Regions from separate parts of the Homo sapiens genome. Here all the other regions are linked to region 3. The links are contacts of gene promoters, found by promoter capture Hi-C in blood cells and fetal thymus (Javierre and others, 2016). All regions are on one chromosome and are shown on one strand. The core of a region is centred on a gene start or on the middle of the fragment in contact, and the rest is flanking DNA. Distances in the headings are between cores, read along the strand shown.

Evidence for each region. Contacts are between HindIII fragments. The CHiCAGO score rates a contact against its expected background, and 5 or more counts as called.
Region 1: a contact is called between a fragment that was not itself captured here and the fragment with the promoter of ACO1 in region 3, in 1 of 17 cell types (M0 macrophages). The highest score is 5.5, in M0 macrophages.
Region 2: a contact is called between a fragment that was not itself captured here and the fragment with the promoter of ACO1 in region 3, in 2 of 17 cell types (M2 macrophages and M1 macrophages). The highest score is 6.8, in M2 macrophages.

What each region holds. Positions count from the first base shown.
Region 1 is chr9:32,884,582-32,888,318 of GRCh38, forward strand. No RefSeq gene overlaps it. Among named protein-coding and RNA genes, the nearest start is that of TMEM215, 100 kb to the left of the region's middle. The HindIII fragment of the contact is 2,114 bases long and covers 933-3,046 here.
Region 2 is chr9:32,863,274-32,866,676 of GRCh38, forward strand. No RefSeq gene overlaps it. Among named protein-coding and RNA genes, the nearest start is that of TMEM215, 81 kb to the left of the region's middle. The HindIII fragment of the contact is 231 bases long and covers 1,836-2,066 here.
Region 3 is chr9:32,382,725-32,386,365 of GRCh38, forward strand. It overlaps ACO1 (aconitase 1), which reads left to right and starts at 1,919. Exons shown (of 21, transcript NM_002197.3): 1 at 1,919-2,011. RefSeq lists a silencer at 1,720-2,099. The HindIII fragment of the contact is 14,350 bases long and covers 1-3,641 here.

The DNA.
Region 1 (3,737 bases), core at 740-3,239, 500 kb after region 3:
TATAACACTTGAATAGGGCTGAATGTTTGTATAGAAACTATTAACTTGACTAACAGTTTGAAATGATCCCACTTTGATCTTTAGCAACCCTATGTGATAAGTCAAGCTGGGGACACATCTGCATTTTGTAGATAAGGAAAGGGAAATACAAAGAGATTCAGTGACTTACTCAAAGTCACACAAGTAATAATCAGCACGAGGACTTCAAGTCTGATCTTCTGACTCTACTCCTTGGCCCTCTGCAACCTCCCAGCCTCAATAAAACACTGGGAGGGGATGCTTCCAGGTCACACACCTCCTGTGACAGCCTCTTTGTTATGTTGCCCTGGAGAGCCACCTGCTCCAGTCCCATGGAGTGCCATAGAATTGTCTTATCCCTCTTTCACATACAGACCTTCTACTTCTTGAAAACAGTAATCCTGTACCCTTTAAATCTTTTATTCCTGAGCTAAACATCAGAGTCAAATTCCCTGAGAGCTATTTTATCTGTGAGGCACACGAAACTCAGTGGCTAGGGTCCATTGCTTTTCAGGGGCCTATGGAAAAAAAAAAAAAAGGTTCCAAGATACAGATAACAAAATTGAAATTAATAGCCATTTAATTAACTACCTGAAAAATGTAACATTATGTCAATGTCATTGTTAAATTTATTATTCATTTATAAATTTATTACAGGTGAGAACACTTGTAGATTAGATTCTCTTGTTTTGCAAGAATTCCTGAGTAGGCACACTGATTGATTTATGCCTACTCGGGAGAGTAGACACAGACAATTGTAAATTGAATAATCATGTATAGGCAAATAACTTCAAAGGCAAAAATATAAAAATCCCTTCAACATTTTTATGGAAAATTTTACATTTAATTCAAGATGTGGGTGCATTTTAATTCGTTTGATCTAAGTGATGATGCCTCCAAAAGAGTCTACATAAAGCTTAAAATGGTCCTGAGTCTTCCATGGCCTAAATTTCTCCATGTAGGCCAACATAACTTTTAGTAAAATTGCTCCTTGTGGCTTCACAGTTTATGTAATTTCTTCTAGTTGCTGAATTTGACCAGTAAATTGAACCCCATTTACATTTGTTTGGAAGAAAATGAAGTTTCTGGGAGCACTCTGGGTCCTGCCACAATTCCACCAACATGACCTATCATGTTGTCAGAAGCGTCCTCTCTCCACACCACACAAATCTAATCTCTTCCAGACATGATGAGAAACTGCTGTAACTCTGGCAAAAGAGCCACTGAAGTCAGCCACATTGCCAAGGGCACGGTTTTAATTGCCTCAAGGAGCCCTGGGGTGCACGGGCAGCACCCTAAATATATTGTAGGTTAAAACCATCTTGCATCCAGACACAGACTGTTAATTCTGTTAAACTTCTTCTATTCAAGTGATATGCCAGGTATCGAAAATGGGCAATTCTTTAAAGGTGCAACGGCTCTGTGAGTGCTCCTTTCACAGGGCCTAACGTGAGACCATCTGGCACAAAGGCTTCATCTGTGATGCCCTCAGAAGTCACCAAGAGGAAAAGCTGGGAGGATCTGCTTGTGAATTCCTAGGGCCGGTAATGATGACAAACCTGCTTTCTAGAGGGCTGGGCCTATGGGTCTTGGCTTCAATCTCAGGCCTGCGGGAAGTCGTGGGGAGCTGGATGATTGAGGCAATAGTACTGATGGTCTCTGCCAAAGCCACAGCCAATTCTAGAACTGGCTTCCCTGCTGGGAAGATGAAAGCCTGAGTTTTATCTGGGTTCTAGGAGGACCTCCAGAGTTCCTCTTCCTTAGGCAGGAAACAAAGCAAGCTCTTAAAGGGGGCAGGGTAGGGAACATGGGGCTCTGCATCAAGGTGTGTGTAGAAAAAGCTGCTACCCAAAGCTACTCTGTTCTCAGAGGCTCAGCATCCTGAATGAGGATGCATTTGCCTCACAAAAGCCCTGTCTCAGTCAAGCCCTTTGGAGTCTATCCAAGGTGACCACCTGCCCTATCTTCTAAGTCTACTTGTTCCATCTCTGTGCTTCAAACCTGAGTTTGCCTCTGTCCCAGCCCTTCAGATTGATGTTCAGATCAGCTTGGGTCTAGTCTCTGGCTTCTCTGATGCTGTCTGCAGGCTTCCCTGTACTCCCAAAGCCAGTCCTGACTCTAAAACCCAGCCAGGCCTGCAGAGCTTCACCATCTCTGGTTGTCCAGGCAAAAACTCTGAATGCTGTAATGCAGAGATCACTAGAGCTTCTATGTAGAGACTCAGCCAAGACCCTTGAAGAAGGGAGACAAGTTTGGCCATGAAACAATAAACCACCTTTAGAAACTCAACAGCACTTATTGGGTGCCTGTGGAATGGTGCTAGGCACTGTGGGTACAGCAAGCTCTGCCTTCACAGAGCTTAGAGTCACCTTCAGACCTGCTGAACAGACACTCCGCTTCCTTACCTTCTGCTGGTAGCATGGTGTTTAGGCTTCCAGGGCAGCTTACCTCTTTCCAGTTCTGATATGGGCAATAAGAGAAGTCACACCTGTGTGGACCAACACCACCGGGAATAGCAATAAAACAAGGGATCAGACAACCAAGGTACATTCCATCCCTTCCAGCTGATTCTTTCTAGTTTATGCATTGTTGCTCTGGGAACCCCAGGATCTATGGGTATCTTCAGCACAGATCCATGAAGTTGCAGCTGTAGAGCAAAAGGAAAAAATATATAATACACGATAAATACCCTAGGGCTGTTTGGTGTACTAAACATTGAACTTGATCTTTCCACTGGAATAAGGAGAAGTAATTTACCTCATTAGAGAGTACATGGCAGCAAGAAAAATATAGCTCATGAACCATATTTATTTTCCATTAATCTTAAAACAACATCCCTCATCCAGATTAAAATACTCAAAACCAAGGGCGTATGATTGATTAAAGAGAAACAACCCTGAATCATGGGGTTGATTCCTGGAGGGGTAAAACAAGGAGACAGATTATTTGCTCTCTTATTACAGATTCCAAGATAAAACTCCTCCCACCTATGACCATGGATGGATACTGGCATCTCTGAATCTTTCAAAGCTTGGAATATCTAACTTAAATCTTTCCACAGTATCATTTAATCCTTATTCTCTTATGCTACCCTCAGTGATATTAAATTTTGAAGATTAATACACATTTTTAGGTGGTAGACCTTAAAAACCAAGAGCCGATTTAACATTTTTCAATCTTAAATTATTCTTAAATTGGGAACTTCATGGTCTTCTCTATATTTACTGCGATCAGGTGTGCCTCACTTTGTAGAATAAATGCATCCCAGAAGGTTCACCTTTAAAGTGAACTTTCCCCCTCTGAGAGTCATATAAAACCAATCCCAAGACAAAATGAAACCATCTTCAATGATTAAATCCTTTTTTAATCATGCATTTTAAAGGAGAAATTTTTGATAAAATAATAATACACTTATGAAAACAAAGTTTCTTTTGTCTGGCAGGATCACTTCTAGAGATAAAGGAAAAAACAGCAATTATAGCTTAAGAACAGAACATCCTAGACTAAAAATTCACTCAGCTTTTATCAAATCTCTTCACTGTCATTGTACAAGAGAATAACAGGAAATTCTCTTTGGGTGCTCAGACCTTGTTTCCTAGCAATCTATGGAGGCTGAAGGCTCTTAAGAATAAGCAATAGAGCTAAGATCGGGGAAGGGTAGAGACCAAGGTCCCAAATATGAGAGGAAGTGGACCAATGAGGCAATCATGAGAAGGGGG
Region 2 (3,403 bases), core at 701-3,200, 480 kb after region 3:
TTGTAGCACAAAAGCAGCCACAGACAATACATAAACAAATGAGCATAGCTGTGTTCCAGTAAAATTTTATTTACCAAAACAGGCTGCAGAATTAAAAACAAACAAAAAATACGGGCTGTGGGCTGTAATTTGCTGACATCCCCATCCCTCCCCAACACTAGCCTTTTGTATAGTTCCATAAATGATAGCTATTGTCAAAACCAAACAGACCGTGTCTAAAAAGTGATTCCGGAAGGAAACATACTCTGTTGCTAGGAAAGCATGTATACCAATATGATGCTTTTCCCTTTGCCTGAAATTTTACAAACTCAGCAACCATCAATCACATAGTCAGTAGATTTTAGCTTCCCACGGTACATTTTGCACTGATGAAGATAGGCCATTCCTTATGCAACGTCCAGGCAAAGAAAACCTGGACATGCCAAAGGACTCCATGTGAGCTGAGAACAGGACTCAGGCCTCCAATGTTCTTAGAAAGGTGATACTTTAATCAATTCCAGAACAAAAATAATAAACTTTTGCAACAAAAACAAAGCTCCCTACATCTTTTAGGAGGAACTTACATATCATAAATAATTGACTTCTCAATATGCACCCACAACAAATATGAATAGAGAAAAGGAAAAGAAGGAGTTAGAAGAAGAAATTAAGAAAAAGAAAGAGAAGAACATGGAGGAGAAGGAAGAGAGAAGCATAGTATCACACACATGTATTTTTAGAAAGTCTTCGAGTTCAGTTTTCTTAGAGTTCTATTCGGCTCCACCTCATTTGCTTCCTGAACCTGAAAGTGTTTCTAAAAGGAAAGTGTCATCCAGAAGAGTAGCTAACAGGATCCAAGTCTGTCTGCCTTACATCCCCACAGCTACCACCAAAGCACCTTATCTGGAATGTTGTAGTGCCAATCCCGATTCAAGGCAGAAGGGGTTTCAAGACCTCCAGCCTAATACTGTTGGACTCAGTGAGGATTACCCCCCCTTCTGGGCCATCATCAATTTTGTGCCCACATAAATTCTGGCTTGACCTGCTGGCCTGGCTTGAACTCCTGGCCTGTTCTCCACTTGTATCCCAGAGTTCAGGTAATCAAATCTCTGTAGCTGATCATATTTGAGAAGAGGAAGGGAAATGCCAATCAAAACCACAATGAGATGTCATCTCATTCCAGTTAGAATGGCTACTGTCAAAAAAAACAAGAAGAAGAAATGTCTACCCTTCCCCAGCTCACCGCCAGTAGGAAACCTTCCAAAGCCCATTTCCCATCCCCAGTCTGGGCTAGATGCCACTCCTGTGCACCTGACATACCCCTAGGAACTCTATCGCTGTTCTGTAACTCTGCTTATTTGCCTTCCCCAATGGACCAAGACATTCTTGAAGGCAGAAAATCTTTCTCATTTATTTTTATTACCTACAGTGTCTAGCATAGTGTTTCTTAGATTAATTAATTAGACCTACTGCTCGTCTTGTCAGGACTATTTGCTGTGGCCTATAGCTACGCCAAACAATGTTCTAAACAGAATGTTCTACTTAGCCAGGTCTCCTCTGGGCACCAGTTGGGGGAGAGGGACCTCATTCAAAATCCTATTTCCTCTAGTCTTCCCTGTCTAGGTATACCAACCTGCCCATCCATGCCACAAGATATAACACAAGATATTGCATTCACTTCCAGGATAATTGATTCCAAGATAACGCATTCACATGGCAATGAGCCTTAGGAATGTTGATCAAAGAAGGGCTTAGTTGTAGGAGTTCACTGGTTGTGACTCCTACCACTCAAATGTCTGGCTCCTACCAAAATCCCCAGTTGAAAGAGATGTTATCATTGAGCAGAACATCCATCAAGCTTCCCTTTGGGCAGTATTCCATCACAATAACCACATCTGGCAGTGCAATACAGCCTCCAGTGAATCTGCAGATGTTTGGATGATCTAATTCTCTAGAAAAACCAATACAGATTAGAAAGGATTTCTCTGGGACATGATCTCCTAATTCCCACTTTAAAATCTGACCTAGTTTTTCTGACCACATAAAGAAACAAATATCCCCCTGGATTTAGTGTTGTGCAAAAATAAAGCTTGCAAATCCACCCACTGTGATGCAGGGTAAAGCACTTAGAAAAAAACATAATCGTCATCAAAATTCATTCTGGGCCAGAACTTTACATTCAATATCTGTAATTTGTGCAACAACCCTGACTGGTGGCTATAACTGTCCTCACTCTAAGTGAGGAAACCAAGGCTCAGAGAAGTGACGTAACTTAGCCAAGGTCCCCCTGATAGGTAATGGAGCTAGATCCTAAACCTAACTTGGCCTAATTCCCAAATTCATTCACGGTGTTTTTCAATCATTGCCATAGTGCATTCCAATATAAAATACAAATACAAAAAGAAGAGTTCTTACACTGGGAGAGTTGAATTTTCTTCACAAATAATATTGTTTCAGAAACAAAAGGCAATTTTCACAAGCCAAGTAGTCACAGACTTTTCAGTCTCTCCACGCCAACCTCTCATATGTTTGTTTTTCTTTAAGTTGGATTCACCCAACCCCCACCCCAGGGAAAGAGTAGGCTCCCTAAATCCCAGGCTTGCAGCTGGCATTTCAGCGTGGTCATTACTACATCTGCACCATCAGCACAGAGGCACAGGTGCTGCCTTGCATAAACCAAAGATTGATTTGCAGGTTATCCATGAGGAGCTTTCCAGTCATAACATTTTTCTCCAATCAAGATTCCAGTATCCTTTATGCAAGTACACAGGCAGTAGGGGAGGGAAAATATCTACTGTCTTTTCAGCTTAAGTTTGCTTCCCCAATCATCACATCTCGAATTACTTCGCAAGACATTCTCCAAGGAATAGCACAATAGCAGTACTTTTCAGAACTGATGCCAGGGAGGGGAGGAATGTTTATGCTTGTAGTAAGTCCCAGCTGGTAGATGAAGGGCCTTTTCCCCACTCTTCAGAGTGGAATTCTCTGGTATCTCCTACCCCTTACTCACTTCCCACCAAGGAAAGGAATCATCGGTGAGTGGGAGTTCACACTCACTATGTCACCATTACTGGTGGGCGGCATCACTGTGGTAAAGACCATCTCTTCCATTACTGCTCCCACATGGTAAGCACCACTGGGCAGTTCCTCCTCTGTGGGAAGAGCTGCTGTTCTTGTTCTACCTACAACTGGGGTGGGTGAGGTAGGCCCATAGTCCTGGTGTGTAGGTGGTCAGATAAGTGACTTTATGTCTGCTCTGCAGGCCAAGCTGCTCACATGCCCACTCGCTCGTCTGGCTGAGCATGTGGGTCTAATGACTCAGATGTGGTCTCTGTGGTAGAAGCATGCACTTCAGCATCTGGCTCTCCAATCCAGCTTTTAGCAGAATTTGCTTTGAATATCAGGGACTTGATACTGAGGACAA
Region 3 (3,641 bases), core at 669-3,168:
GGTCTAATACAGACACCTTTGGAATATCCAGGTGGGGTTGCCACATATGGCTGCAAATCAAGAGTGTGAAGGTCAGAAAGTTAACTAAGACCAATGACAGAGACATAGCAGGCTTCAGCTAGAAGTGGCAGGCAGTCTGCATACTGAGAAAATAGATGAAGAAAAACTCAGCAAATGGAGAAACATATAAAGCAAGAGGAGAGAGTGTAGGGAAAGACCTTAAAAAAGAGGGACAAAAGAGGGAAGAGGTGACTCCTAAGAGCGGAGGGCTGAAAAGCCAAAAGGAGGTTAACATTTCTAGGAAAACGAATCGCCAGTGTCAAATACCACAGAGTAGTGAGTAAGGACAGGAACAGAGGACAGGCCCTGGGATTCACGATCTGCACGTCACTGGTGACAACGTCCAAGAGCAACAGACTGGGGGGATGTGGAACTATTTCCTTCACGGTTTTGACCAGCGTGCTTACTAATAAATCTCAATTCCCTTCATAGCTCTGATTTGATTGTTTTCTGCGAAGGATTCTCAGTTACACGGATGTTATCATTGAACATTAGATACTTTGCTTTCCGAATGGCTGCCTCATTAAGAATCGCAATTTAGCTGGATGTGTCCTCATCGGACTTCCCCAGCCTTCTACTCACTCTCACCTTGCCCCTACTCTCCCTACCTCCCAAGGGGACTGGAGCATGATTTTTCAGGGATTGTGGTGCACCTCTGCCATATGGTGGACATTCAAAGAAAATTTAATTACTAATGTGAATGGAAAGGATTTAGGAAGTGGGTGGGAAAACAGTCTCCTCTCATATTGGAAATACAGTTACTTCCCCTTTCAAAATAAATATAAGTATTTATATTTCAAAGTTAAATATAACTAGACGATAGTTGTACCCTATAGTGCAGTATGACAGGGAAGGTGTAGGCTTTGGTGTCAAACCAACCTAAGGACTGAGTCTCAGCTGTTGCGCATTGCACACCTGCAAAGACGGGTAATATTCTTTACTTGTAAGGTGGTTGGAAGAGCTGAACTGAATAACGTGGAAAGAGTCGATCACAGGGCTTTGTGCAGAATAGGAGGGCAGTATAAAGTAGCAGGGGGGCTATTAGTACTGGCTATTGTTTACTCATCCTATAAGCTGCTTATTCAGAAAACTACAGTAACTTTCCAAATAATTTGGGCAGGAAAACCTCACCACCTTTCATCTAGAAAGATCTAATCACTTCTTTGAACGCCATTCACCCAAGAGGGCACAACTCCTACCAACATGAAAAGCAGATCTTGTGAAAGCCCACTTGCTGCCATCTCCCAGCCATTTCTCCGACTTCAGACCGGTGAACATCGTGCATTAGAAAGTGTTGTTACATGTCCAAGGAAATCTACATATAGAACTTTTGCCACGGAAATGCTGAAGTCCTATTCTGACAGCGTGACTCCGATGTCCACTTGGCAGGCTTTGCGCAAAGAATTAAGGCGAGGGTGGAGAGGGTGGGTAGGGTGGGGACGGACAAAGTGAGAAGGGAGGCGGGCCAAGTGACCACACGTACATGAAGCCTCTCCAGTTATGGCCAAATCATTTTTTAAAAATAATTCCATTTCTTCCCCACCCTTTGGTCACTTCCTAACGCCGGCTGGGGAGTCACATGCTAAGCTCCAAAGTGAGCAACAGACACCCTCGTCCCAGGTCCCATGCTGGCAGAAGCGGACCCGGGCCGAGGGATCAGCCCTCCCACTTCCAGCGGAGGAGCCCTTCGCAACCCTAGCCTCCAGCCCGGGGCGAAGTCCTCCAGGCCCGCGGGGGCGCCCGCAGGCTCCGCCCCTTCTTCGGCTAGCTGCCCGTCCGTCCCGCCCCTGCTCCGCCCTTCCCGCCCCTGCTCCGCCCATCGCGCGGCGGCCCCGGGGGCGAGAGGGGGCGGAGCGTGGAGGCGGCAGCTGGAACCGCGCAGCGCACGGGAACGCGTCCCGCTGCTTGGGTCAGGTTCGCCGGTCGCGGGAGCCCCGCCGTGCAGTCGGAGGTGAGTACCGACGCGGCCCGACCCACGTCCCCAGGCGGGAGCGCCGTCCACCCTGTATCCCTCGAGAGTCGGTGCGGGCCTTTACCGAGGTGCCCGAGGCAGTGGCGGCACGGGGGACACGGAGGCGAGCTTGGGGAGGCTGAGAGGAGAATCGGGGACGTGTTTCTGGCGACTGACGTCTCCACCCTGTCCCCAGTCTATGTCATGCCGGGGAGAGAAACCAGGGATTGGAAGTGGCTTTCCTAGACCCTTCTTAGCCTTGGCTGTGCGTGCTGTCCTGAAAGTCCTTGCCTAGGGTGTGCGGCCAGTCCTGGGAGTCCTAACCCCGAGGGTGTGAGGCCCGCACTGGGAGTCCTCGCCCAGGCCCGGCTGGCTGGATAGGGAAACCCTTGCTAAAGTTGTGCGGGCAGATCCGGGAATCCACTCCAAGGGGTAAAGGGAAAATGGGATGAGGGGGAAGAGACCCTTCGTGGGAGGCTTGAACACAGAGCCCACCATGATAGATTCAGAGATCTAGAAAGGAGCTTGGGCTGCAGTTATGACCAAGTCATTTTTTTCTAGATTCAGCTAGCACATCATAATGGCATCTTCCTTCTTGCAACACATGTAACTCTCTTCCCTGGGGGACAACCTCTAGGACAGAAGTCCCCAAACTTTTCTGGTACTCAGTACTCCTTTACACTCTTAAAAATTAGTATCTTAAGGAGCTTTTATGTGTGTTATATCTATCCATATTTATAATATGTAAGTAAGACTGAGAAATTTGTACTATAATAATTCATTTAAAAAGAATAGTGAACTAATTATATCTTAACATTGCCTATTTTTATGAAAAAGAACTATATTTCCCAAAACAGAAAATGATTGAGAAGAGTGGCATTGTTTTACATTTTTGCAAATCTCTTTGATGTCAAGCGTAATTGAAGACAGCTGGATTCTGATAGCTGCTTCTGCAGTCTGTTGCAATATCACATATCATGTAGCCTCTTGAGACCTCCACTGTATACTCCTGAAAATGTGTGAATGAAAAAAAGCAAGTAACATTTTATTACTAGGAAAATGGTTTTGACTTTGGAGATCCCTAGGAGTTCTCTGCACCACACTTTGAGGATGCTGGTGTAGGAAATGCTTCAGAGGCTTCATTCATTGGGCCTGCTTCTTGTTTGTGATCCTTCCTCTGATTGGGAACACACACCACCTCATGCCATGGACAGTATTAACCTCTGGTATCTGGAACCAAGTTTGATCTCACTTTGGAAACCATGTACTAGGTCCCCACGTGAGGCTGTGATGAACCTTGCCAGCCTCCTGAAAAGTCAGCAAGGCTTCGCACATGCCTTTGGTTGTCTCTGTGCTTGCAGAGCTGACCTGTCTGTGCATCAGGATTACAACAGTGATGTGGCAAACAGGACCTGTAGGCTCACAAAAGTGCCAGTGGGGAGACCATGCCAAGTGTGTAGGGGTTCCTGTGAGAGTTACCAAGTAGTCAGGAAGTTATTTCCAAAAGAACAAGGAGGCATGCTTTTGCCTTCCCTTGCACGTGTTCATTTCTGTTTGCAGTTGCATGGTTATTAGCCTTGAGTTTATTGGAATAATGATTTCCAGTCTTGACGTTCTTTCACTTTCCACT